Linked DNA regions of Homo sapiens: region 1 is linked to region 2. The links are contacts of gene promoters, found by promoter capture Hi-C in human tissues and cell types (Jung and others, 2019). All regions are on one chromosome and are shown on one strand. The core of a region is centred on a gene start or on the middle of the fragment in contact, and the rest is flanking DNA. Distances in the headings are between cores, read along the strand shown.

Region 1 (4,657 bases), core at 708-3,207, 550 kb after region 2:
CATCGTACTTATACAACTTAATAATTCCCTGTCATCTAATACATGGTCTTTATTCAAATTTCCAAAACTGTCTTCTATGCCTGTTCTCCTCCATGATATAATCATTTTTCACTGGTTGATTTCTTTTTTAATTTTTTTTTTTTTTAAAGACAGTCTCCCTCTTGCCCAGGCAGGAGTGCAGTGGCACAGTCATAGCTTACTGCAGCCTGGACCTTCTAGGCTCAAACCATCCTTACCACCTCAGCCCCTCGAGTGGCTAGGACTACAAGCACACGTGCTACCATGCCCAGCTCATATTTTATTTTTTACTTTTGTAGAGATAGGCTGGAGTGCAGTGACACTATCACATAGCTCACTGTAACCTCCAACTCCTGGGCTCAAACAATCCTCCCGCATCAGCCTCCCAAGTAGCTGGGACTATAGCTGGGTGCCACTGTACCAGCTACTTTTAAATTTTTTGTAGACAGAGTCTCTCTATGTTACCCAAGGCTGGTCTCCAACTCCTGCCCTCAAGTGATCCTCCTGTCTCGGCCTCCCAAAGTGCTGAGATTATAGGTGTGAGCCACCACGCCAGGCTCACGGGTTAATTTTTTAAAAATTATTTTATTGCATGTAATGTTTGCCTAAACAAAAATTATTTCATTTTGCTTATAATTTTACTTTCTTTTTTTTGAGACGGAGTCTCGCACTGTCGCCCAGGCTGGAGTGAAGTAGTGTGATCTTGGCTCACTGCAACCTCCACCTCCCAGGTTCAAGTGATTCTCCTGCCTCACTCAGCCTTCCGAGTAGCTGGGACTATAGGTGCCCGCCACCACGCCCAGCTAATTTTTTGTAGAGACGGGGTTTCACTGTGTTAGCCAGGATGGTCTCCATCTCCTGACCTCACGATCCACCCGCCTCAGCCTCCCAAAATGCTGGGATTACAGGCATGAGCCACCGCGCCCAGCCTATAATTTTACTTTTATGACAAAGGCGTGTTATTGAATAGAGTCTGGGACTTGCTGTTTTCCACTTAGCTTTGGTTGACATAATGCTGAAGTGTGTAGCTGTAGCTTCTTAGTTCTCATGGCTCTATAATCTTCCATTGAGTGGAATTTTACCATGATGCAATTCCTCTCTCTCCCCTCCTTGGGGATTGGGCTGCTTCCATTGTTTTGCTGTTACTAAGAATGCAATTAACACTTATAGCCGGGCACGATGGCTCATGTCTGTAAACCCAGCACTGTGGCAGGCCACGACGGGAGGATCCCTTGAGCTCAGGAGTTTGAGACCAGCCTGGGCAACATGGCAAGACCCCATCTCTACTAAAAATACAAAAAAATTAGCCAGGCATGGTGGCATGCTTGCTATTCAAGAGGCTGAGGCGGGAGGATCGCTTCAGCCCAGGAGGCAGAGGTTGCAGTGAGCTGAGATCATGCCACTGCACTCCAGCCTGGGCAACAGAGCGAGATCCTGTCTCAAAAAAAAAAAAAAAGCAGAGGAGGAGAAGCATAGATCCGTTAAAAAGTTTAAGGCCCAGCCTGGTGACTCGCCCCTGTAATCCCAACACTTTGGGAGGCTGAGGCGGAAGAATTGCTTGAAGCCAGGAGTTTGAGATCAACCTGGGCAACATAGCAAGATCCTGTCTCTACAAAAATGTTAAAATTAGCCAGACGTGGTGGTATGCACCTGTAGGCCCATGTACTCAGGAGACTGCGGCAGGAGGATGAGGTCAAGGCTGCAGTGAGCTAGGATCGCACTACTGCATGGGTGACAAAATGAGACTACATCTCTAAAAAAAAATTTTTTTTGAAAAGGAAGAGGAAGAAGGCCAGGCGCAGTGGCTCATGCCCGTAATCCCAGCACTTTGGGAGACCGAGGCAGGCGGATCACCTGAGGTCAGGAGTTCAAGACCAGCCTGACCAACATGATGAAACCCCGTCTCTACTAAAAATACAAAAATTAGCCAAGCGTGGTGGCTCGTGCCGGTAGTCTCAGCTACTTAGGAGGCTAAGGCAGGAGAATTGCTGGAACCTGGGAGGCGGAGGTTGCAGTGAGCCCAGATCACGCCACCGCACTCCACCCTGAGCGACAGAGCAAGACTCCATCTTAAGAAAAAAAAAAAAAAAACTACAGTTCCCTTTGTAAAATGGGTTTTTGGTAGAGACAGTGTCTTGCTGTCATTCCGGCTAGAGTCCAGTAGCTGGGACTACAGGTGTGGGCCACCATGCCCAGCTAATTTTTCCATTTTTATAGAGATGGGATCTTGCTATGTTGCCCAGGCTACATTTTTTTTTAAATCATGAGTTTTTGAAGGAAATTGGATAGGGCAGGCTGTGGTAGGGGATGGATTGGACAAGCCCCTGCTTGAATGCCTGCATACAGTGGGGAAAAGGGGGATCAAAATGGGTCAAGCCTTAAGGGTCCCTCCTGCACGCAGTGTCCAGGTGCAGGTCTGGGATGGCAGAAGAACCACAGGCTCATGAGCACTGGCCTGGGCACAGGTCCACAGGTCTCTGCCCCGCTGCAGCTTGGCCCTCCTCTCTCCAGGCCTCAGTTATCTCATCCATGAAATGGAGCTGATGGAATTCCTGCTAAACCTGTGCGCAGGCCCTACAAGGGGTTAAAAGCTGAACCTGAATGTAGCTTTTTTATTTTTTCGAGACCGGGTCTCACTCTGTCACCCAGGCTGGAATGCAGTGGTGCAATCGCTGCAGCCGTGAACTCTGCCCGGGCCTGGCAGGGAGTTGGGGCTCTGTGAAGTGGTTCAGGAGGGGAGAGAAGGACCATTATCCCACGCTTCTGCTACAGATCGCAGTCTCTCCCCTCTAAACCGCCCTTGCCCTTCGCTGGCTGCGTCTCCCTGCTGTGAATGGTCGTAATTACCAACGTGAGGTCGTCAGTCTGAGCTGAAGTCCTCTAACTAGGCGGGGAGAGTCAGGGCTGGCCAGGGCTCTTGCACTTTGCCCCGAGAGAGAGCCGTGGAGCCAGCCCAGGCACCACCCGAGCCAGTTGGTTTAAAATTGTGTACATAGCATGGCTGTGATTCAGTGAGCTTGGTTGTCTTTTTTTTTTCCCCCTTGGCAAATTTCAGTTACTCCTTGGGCTAACAGACAGCAGACTGGTAAAGATAAGATGAGAGTTGCCCAGCCAGCGTTAAAGAGAGAGAGGAGACCGAAGAACAGAATGAGCAGGAGGGGGGCAGGAAAAATGTCAAGGGAAGGCCTGTCCACCAAAGGTGTCACTGTCCAGGGGCAGTGGGCAGGAGGTCGCTGCTGCGGGGATGGGTTCTTTCAGCAGGACTTTCTGCACAGCACTGGGGGCAGAAACATGAAGGTGAAACCCTACACACACTGAGTCCTAACTATGACATTTCCAAACAGAGAACACTCTGAAATGTTTGCAACTGTGGGTGTCTTTACAGCCAGCCTGGGTTCAGGGGAGCTCAGGCAGGTCCTCCCGAGAATAGGTTTGCTGACTTGGTGTTCCGGACGGTAAACTAAACCCCCTTTTCTGGGGGGGGTTGGGGGGAGACGGAGTTTTGCTCTTGTTGCCCAGGCTGGAGTGCAGTGGCGCCATCTCGGCTCACTGCAACCTCCGCCTCCCGGGTTCAAGTGATTCTCCTGCCTCAGCCTCCCAAGTAGCTGGGATTACAGGCACCCGCCACTATGCCCGGCTAATTTTTTTTTATTAGTAGTAGAGATGAGGTTTCACCATGTTGGCCAGGCTGGTCTTGAACTCCTGACCTCAGCTGATCCACCCACATTGGCCTCTCAAAGTGTTGGGATGAAAGGCATGAGCCACCGCATGCCCGGCCCATTGCTGCTTTACAGATGAGGACATCGAGTGGTTCAGGGACTTGCCCAGGGTCGCGAGCTGATTGCAGAGCTGGGATTTGAACCCAGGCAATCAGTCTTGGGTAGACCACTGGGCTTGTGACCCTGGCCTTGAAGGGCCCGGTATTGCTCCTGCCCCTGCAGTGTCCTCAGCAGCTCTCTGAGGCGATTCTCTGATCCGTGTTTTTCCCGTGAGCAGATTAGACTCAAAGGTGACCGGGCATGCTGGAGCTGCCCTGCCCCACCTGAGGCCGAGGCCACCACTGCCCACAGCAGTCCTTGGGGAACTCCCTGGTGGCGACCTGGTGGTGGTGGCAGGAGCCTGGCTCTGTTGGGAAAGAGGACTCATGACCCCACCTGCAGCTCTCCGAGATGCTCAGCTGGTCTGGGCACGATGGCTCACGCCTGTATCTCAGCACTTTGGAAGGCCAAGGTGGGTGGATTGCTTGAGCTTAGGAGTTGAAGACCAGCCTGGGCAACATAGTGAGACCTTGTCTCTACAAATAACACAAAAATTAGACAGACATAGTGGCACACACCTGTAGCACCAGCTACTCAGGAGGCTGAGGATGGAGGATGGCTTCAGCTCAGGAGGCGGAGGTTACAGTGAGCTGAGATTGCTCCACTGCGCTCCAGCCTGGGCAACAGAGCCAGACCATCTCAACTCAAAAAAATAAATAAATAAATAAAGCTTGGCTGGGCCATCTGGGTTAGCAAGGATCTTAGCATTCTCCCTCAGGGCTAACCAGGGTGCGTGGGCGAGCTGTCTCGGTTGCAGCGGGGGCCACGATTCCTGTCGGGCAAGACTGGTGCCAGCCTGCACACCTCAGAGCCCAACAGGA
Region 2 (4,864 bases), core at 1,201-3,700:
CCCGGCCTCAGGGGAGAGGTCTGTTCCAGCCACCTCAAGTCTATTCCTGTGAGTGCCCCTCCACACCCCTCCTGGATCCCCCCACTGCAAACTCTCTCCCCCTGGCTCCGGACTCTCTCCCCGTCCTGGAATTAATAAAGACTCTGTGCAGACTGCGGTTTGCAAGTCTGAAAGCTGGTTCCTGCCCGTGTCACTGCCTCGAGAAGAGAGGGGTCCAGCTCCCCACAGTAGCCCCTGCCTTCCTCCTTCCCAGGCAGGCGGAGGCACGCAGATATACCATTGACTTCCCCTCCCCTGCAGCAGGCACATCCTGGGCATCGAGCTTCAGACCCTGCCCCTGAGCAGCCCCTAACCCCACCAACAAAGGGTGGCTTGGGGGGGCTTTCACCCCAGCATAATCTCCATCAGCTACCCTCAAAGCACCCCCAAATAAACACACACCGTAAGTAAGAGCTGTACACTGGCTGTGTGCGTACATCTTCAAGACAATTCTCCCAGCATGCCCCTACCTTCCAAAATTCCAGAGCTGCTCCCTCCAAAGACCCAGGGAAAAGGAAGGGTTTGTCCAGGGTCCTGGGGTGGCCCCGTATAGACCAAAGCCTGATAGCTGTCCTAGAAGCAGAGTACTTGCAGAGCGAGTGACGGCAACTGTGGTATTGACACCAGTCCTAGCACCAGCTGAACACAGAGCATTTTTGATCTAGCAGAAATACAAGACCACGTTGTATTTGTCTTTGCAATAATCTCTTAGCTAGGAATACTGATCACCTGTAGACAGATAAGGAAACTGATGCTCTGTGGAGAGGTTTTCCTACCAGAAAGGCTAGAGCCAGAAATTTACTTCTAGGTCCACCAATACCTGCCTTTGACCAATGCCTGCATTTGACCTTTCCACGCTGAGCCACCCCTGCTGGCACTCCAGACTGCCACAGTGCTCCTGCCTCCACAAGGGGTCTTTAACTCATCCCTCGGAGCCATCGTGGTGCAGGGAAAAGCCCACAGGGCGTGTGGCTTCCATGCTGTTCCCTGACTGGCTGTGACCTAGGACAAGGAACAAGTTTCCCTCTCCTATTCTCTAGGTCTCACATTTCTTCTCCTCTAGCAGTAGTGGGAAGTGAGGGGTGGGGGACACGACCCTCCCCTGTTCCATCCCACACTCCAACCCCCAAAATCCCCCAGGGTCCCCGTCCAGCTCAGTCCTGGGGGCAGAAATGCAGAGTTCTCCAGGAACGTGGTCCCAGCTGTTTCAGTGCAGGCCGCCCCCTCCTGGCCACCAGCGGAATGTCAGCCTTCCCAGAGGGGCCGGGAGAACAGCAGTCGAGAAGCTCCCAGACTGGTGTGGGCGCTAGCTGTGCTCAGCGTGGGGATGGGAGGTGACCCAGTGATAATGGGAAGCTGGGCTGCCTGTCAGTCTGCGGGGGGCTCCCACCTCCCTGTTCCCCCACAGGGCACCTGGGGATCCAGCCTGATTTTTACCAGACCCTGCGGCCTGCATGGGGCTGGGTATAGGGCTGTGACCTTGACCCATGCAGAATAGAACCCTGTGTGTCGGGATCCTCCATGTGCTCCAGATGCCCCTGGGGACAGCACCAACATGGCCTTAACTCCCAAGCCATTCCCCTGCCTCTAACCCCCTGGCATCTGCAGGCATCCACCCCAGACCCACCCAACACCTCCTCCCCAGCTTCAGGCGCTAGGCAGAGACCTTGGCCCCTGCAGAATGCAGCCCTGTCCAGGGTCCCCTACCTTCCCCCCAGATCCCTCCCAGAGCAATACCAACCCGGGCCTACCTTCCAGGCCATTCAACCTGCAGCCCCCCGGCCTCTGTAGACATCGCACCCCCCAAACCCCCAGACCTGCCCAATGCCTCCCCTCCCCAGCTTTGGGCAGAACCTGTCTCTAGCCAGACCTGGGGGTGTTGGGGAGTCTGGAGGGCCGGGGTGGGGGCTGAGGCGCGGGACAGCTGGCCCGTATCCTCACACTGGGCCCGGGGCCCAGCCGGAGGGGCGGGGGCCTGGCCACTCGGGCCTTGGCTGGGGCTGGGATTTTTGGCCTGGCCGCCAGGCCCTCCCTTCTGCTTCCTCTCCCGAGGGCTGTCCTGGCAGAGGCCCCCCTCGCTCTTTCTGGCGGGAACAGGGCCAGCAGCGAAAGAACAGTCGCAGAGGGAAAGCGGGAAAGAGATGGGGGAAAGTGTGTGTGTGTGAGTGTGTGCTTGTGTGCATGTGTGTGCGTGTGTGTGTCAAGGAAAAAAGCTCGCAGTCCAGCAGCCCGGGCCTGGGAGGCTTGTGAGCCGGGCCTTTCGTAATTGTCCCCTCCCCGCGGCCCCCTCCCCCAGGCCTCCCCCCTCTCCCGCCCTCCCGCCCGCCCTCTCTCCCTCCCTCTTTCCCTCACAGCCGACGAGGCAACAATTAGGCTTTGGGGATAAAACGAGGTGCGGAGAGCGGGCTGGGGCATTTCTCCCCGAGATGGCGGGTCTGACGGCGGCGGCCCCGCGGCCCGGAGTCCTCCTGCTCCTGCTGTCCATCCTCCACCCCTCTCGGCCTGGAGGTAAGGACCCCTCGCCCCTGTCCCCAGCGCTGCCCACAGCTGCGGGCCCTTTGGGCCAGGTGACTAGACGCTCAAGGGGGAGACCTTCGTCCCTGGGAACTGCAAGGGGTCCCAGGTGGGAGCCCCTCAGCCACTGGGTCCTCGGAACTGCCCCTCCCAGGAGCCAGCCCCGTGCCCAGGAGGAACCTGTCAAAGAGACACCCTCGACTCAGAATAGTCCCAGCCCAGCATCCAGGCTTTGCTGCCCTGCGAGGGCTGAGGGGGCCCCTGCTCAGGTGCCCGGGTGCCCGCCCTGTAGGGGGATCAGAGCATCCTGGGGGAGGGCCCAGCGGGAACCCCTGGGTCTGGAGACACCACAGTCTGCACACCTGTGGACACAGCTGGGGTGCACACCAGCCCTGGGGACAGGGAACCTGGGCTTGATACCAGCTCAACCGCAGTGAGCTGTGTGACCTCAGCAGGTTCCTTGACCCCTGGGAAGCCGGGATCCCCCCGTCAGGAAGGTCAGGGCTCCGCTGAGGATGGGTTTGCAGGTTGGGAAGCTGCTGCTGTGTTCTCCCTGCTGAGGCAGGCAGGGACTCCTGGTATGCATTTGTGTGTGTGTGTGTGTGTGCATGCACACAGGAATGAGCGTGCTGTGTGCTCGTGTGTGTATGTGTGCATGCACAGGTGTGCATGTGTTCAGATGCCCGGCTGTGTCACTGAACAGGGAAAGGGATTTCTGGAGGGGTACATATGTCTGCTCACAGGTTCATCCTTAGGCAGGTGTATGCGTATGTTTGGAGGAGGTATATGAAGCTGCTCCTTAGTGTGTGCAAAAGTCTGCCACCTGACAGACATGTAGACATGTACACATGTAGACATGGGCGATCTGGCATCCAGGTGTGACACTGGTGTGGACTGTCACTGTGTGTGTTATGGAGTGTGTACATCTGTGTGTGTGAATGTGTGTGCGATGTGGCACGCAAGCATGGAAAGGCGGGCTGGAGAAGGTGTCTGTCTCCTGGCAGAGGCAGTGTGGCTGAGACAGAGGCTGGAGTGGATCCTGGGGCACTGCTGGGCCATCTGCTATGTGCCCCAACCCAGGCACAGTTGGTTATGGGGTTTGAGGGTGTGCCCTGTGGGGCTGCTATGCCGCGGCCAACGGGGGAGGACAGAAGAGGCTCCCGGGCATGGGAAAAAGGAGGGCATTTGGTAGGGGGGTCTGGGTGGAGTCTGGTTTCCTCGGGAGTCCTCCTTGCCATGAGAACCAAACGCTGAGTGGGGGGCGGGAGGGCCACGGGGTGGAGTCAAGGGCCTGGGCAGGAGCTGCAGCTGTTTCCGTGAGATTGAACAGCTTCCTGTGCAGGGTCCGCTGCTGGACCTGGATGAGGCCAAGGGACATGGGTACCCACAGGCGGGCCCCAGCAGGGGCAACGAGCCAGGGCCTGAAAGCAGCAGCCCCGGGTCCGTCTCAGCCTCCTCCCCAGGTGTAGCCCCCAAACACCCAGCCACCCTTCTTCCCAGATGGGGCCACCACCTATAGGGTGGCAGTTCATCATCAAGGAACCTTGAGAATTAGAAATTATTATCATCACTTGACAAACAAGGAAGCTGAGGCTCCGGCAGGCTAAGGCAGTCCCCGGGGGTTAGTATCAGCCAGCTCTCTGCCCCAGGTCAAGGGGCAAGGGGGTTAGGAGTGAGCTAGCAGGCAACATTTGGGGAGGGGAAGGCTTGGGGCTGAGTCCTTAAAGCAGGCATGCCCTAGGCAGAATCAGCTCTCTCCTTGTGTCCTCAGTGACACCGCTAAACGCCCAGCTGGCCTCACACTTTGCAGAGATCAATCTCAGCTCTGTCCCAGGTGGCTGGACTTGCTAGGTCCAAATAAGGGGTGTGTGAACTGATGAGCTCGTGTGGGGTTTTGCACAGAAGTGCTACTGAAGTCTGCAGAGGTCGGGGAGCCAACACAGGGAGTGGAGCGCTCAGTCACATGCTCACTGCCACTCACCTGGCTGTCCTGGGGGAGCCTGGCTTCTCCCTCAAGGAGGAGGGTGTCACTTATGCAAGTTCAGCGGCTCCAAGGAAGGAACCCTGTTGCGGGGGTGGGGGAGCAGGAGGAGGGGACAAGCCGCACAGCTCCCAGGCTGTTTCAAAAGTGAGCATGAGAAATTAACCCAGGGATAATTCTTCCCCATCCCCCAGAAATAGTATCAGGGATTTTTTTTTTTTTTTTTCCTGATTTCAGAACTGAAGATGGTTTGGAACAGAGGTTTCCTTTTCTTTTATTTTCCTTTTTTATTTTTATTTTTTTACCTTTTTTATTTTTTTTAAATTGAGA

What was found. The method cuts DNA at HindIII sites, captures the fragments that hold promoters and counts their contacts. A contact is called where the count stands out against the background at its distance.
Region 1: a contact is called between a fragment that was not itself captured here and the fragment with the promoter of ELN in region 2, in 1 of the 25 tissues and cell types used here (IMR-90 fibroblasts).

Annotation. Positions count from the first base shown.
Region 1 is chr7:74,577,528-74,582,184 of GRCh38, forward strand. All of the region lies in intron 22 of GTF2IRD1 (GTF2I repeat domain containing 1), which reads left to right. Among named protein-coding and RNA genes, the nearest start is that of MIR10525, 16 kb to the right of the region's middle. RefSeq lists an enhancer at 3,489-3,990 and a silencer at 3,953-4,247. The HindIII fragment of the contact is 6,229 bases long and covers 1-4,657 here.
Region 2 is chr7:74,025,723-74,030,586 of GRCh38, forward strand. It overlaps ELN (elastin), which reads left to right and starts at 2,451. Exons shown (of 33, transcript NM_000501.4): 1 at 2,451-2,547. The coding sequence starts at 2,466. RefSeq lists enhancers at 862-1,834, 2,807-3,778. The HindIII fragment of the contact is 22,090 bases long and covers 1-4,864 here.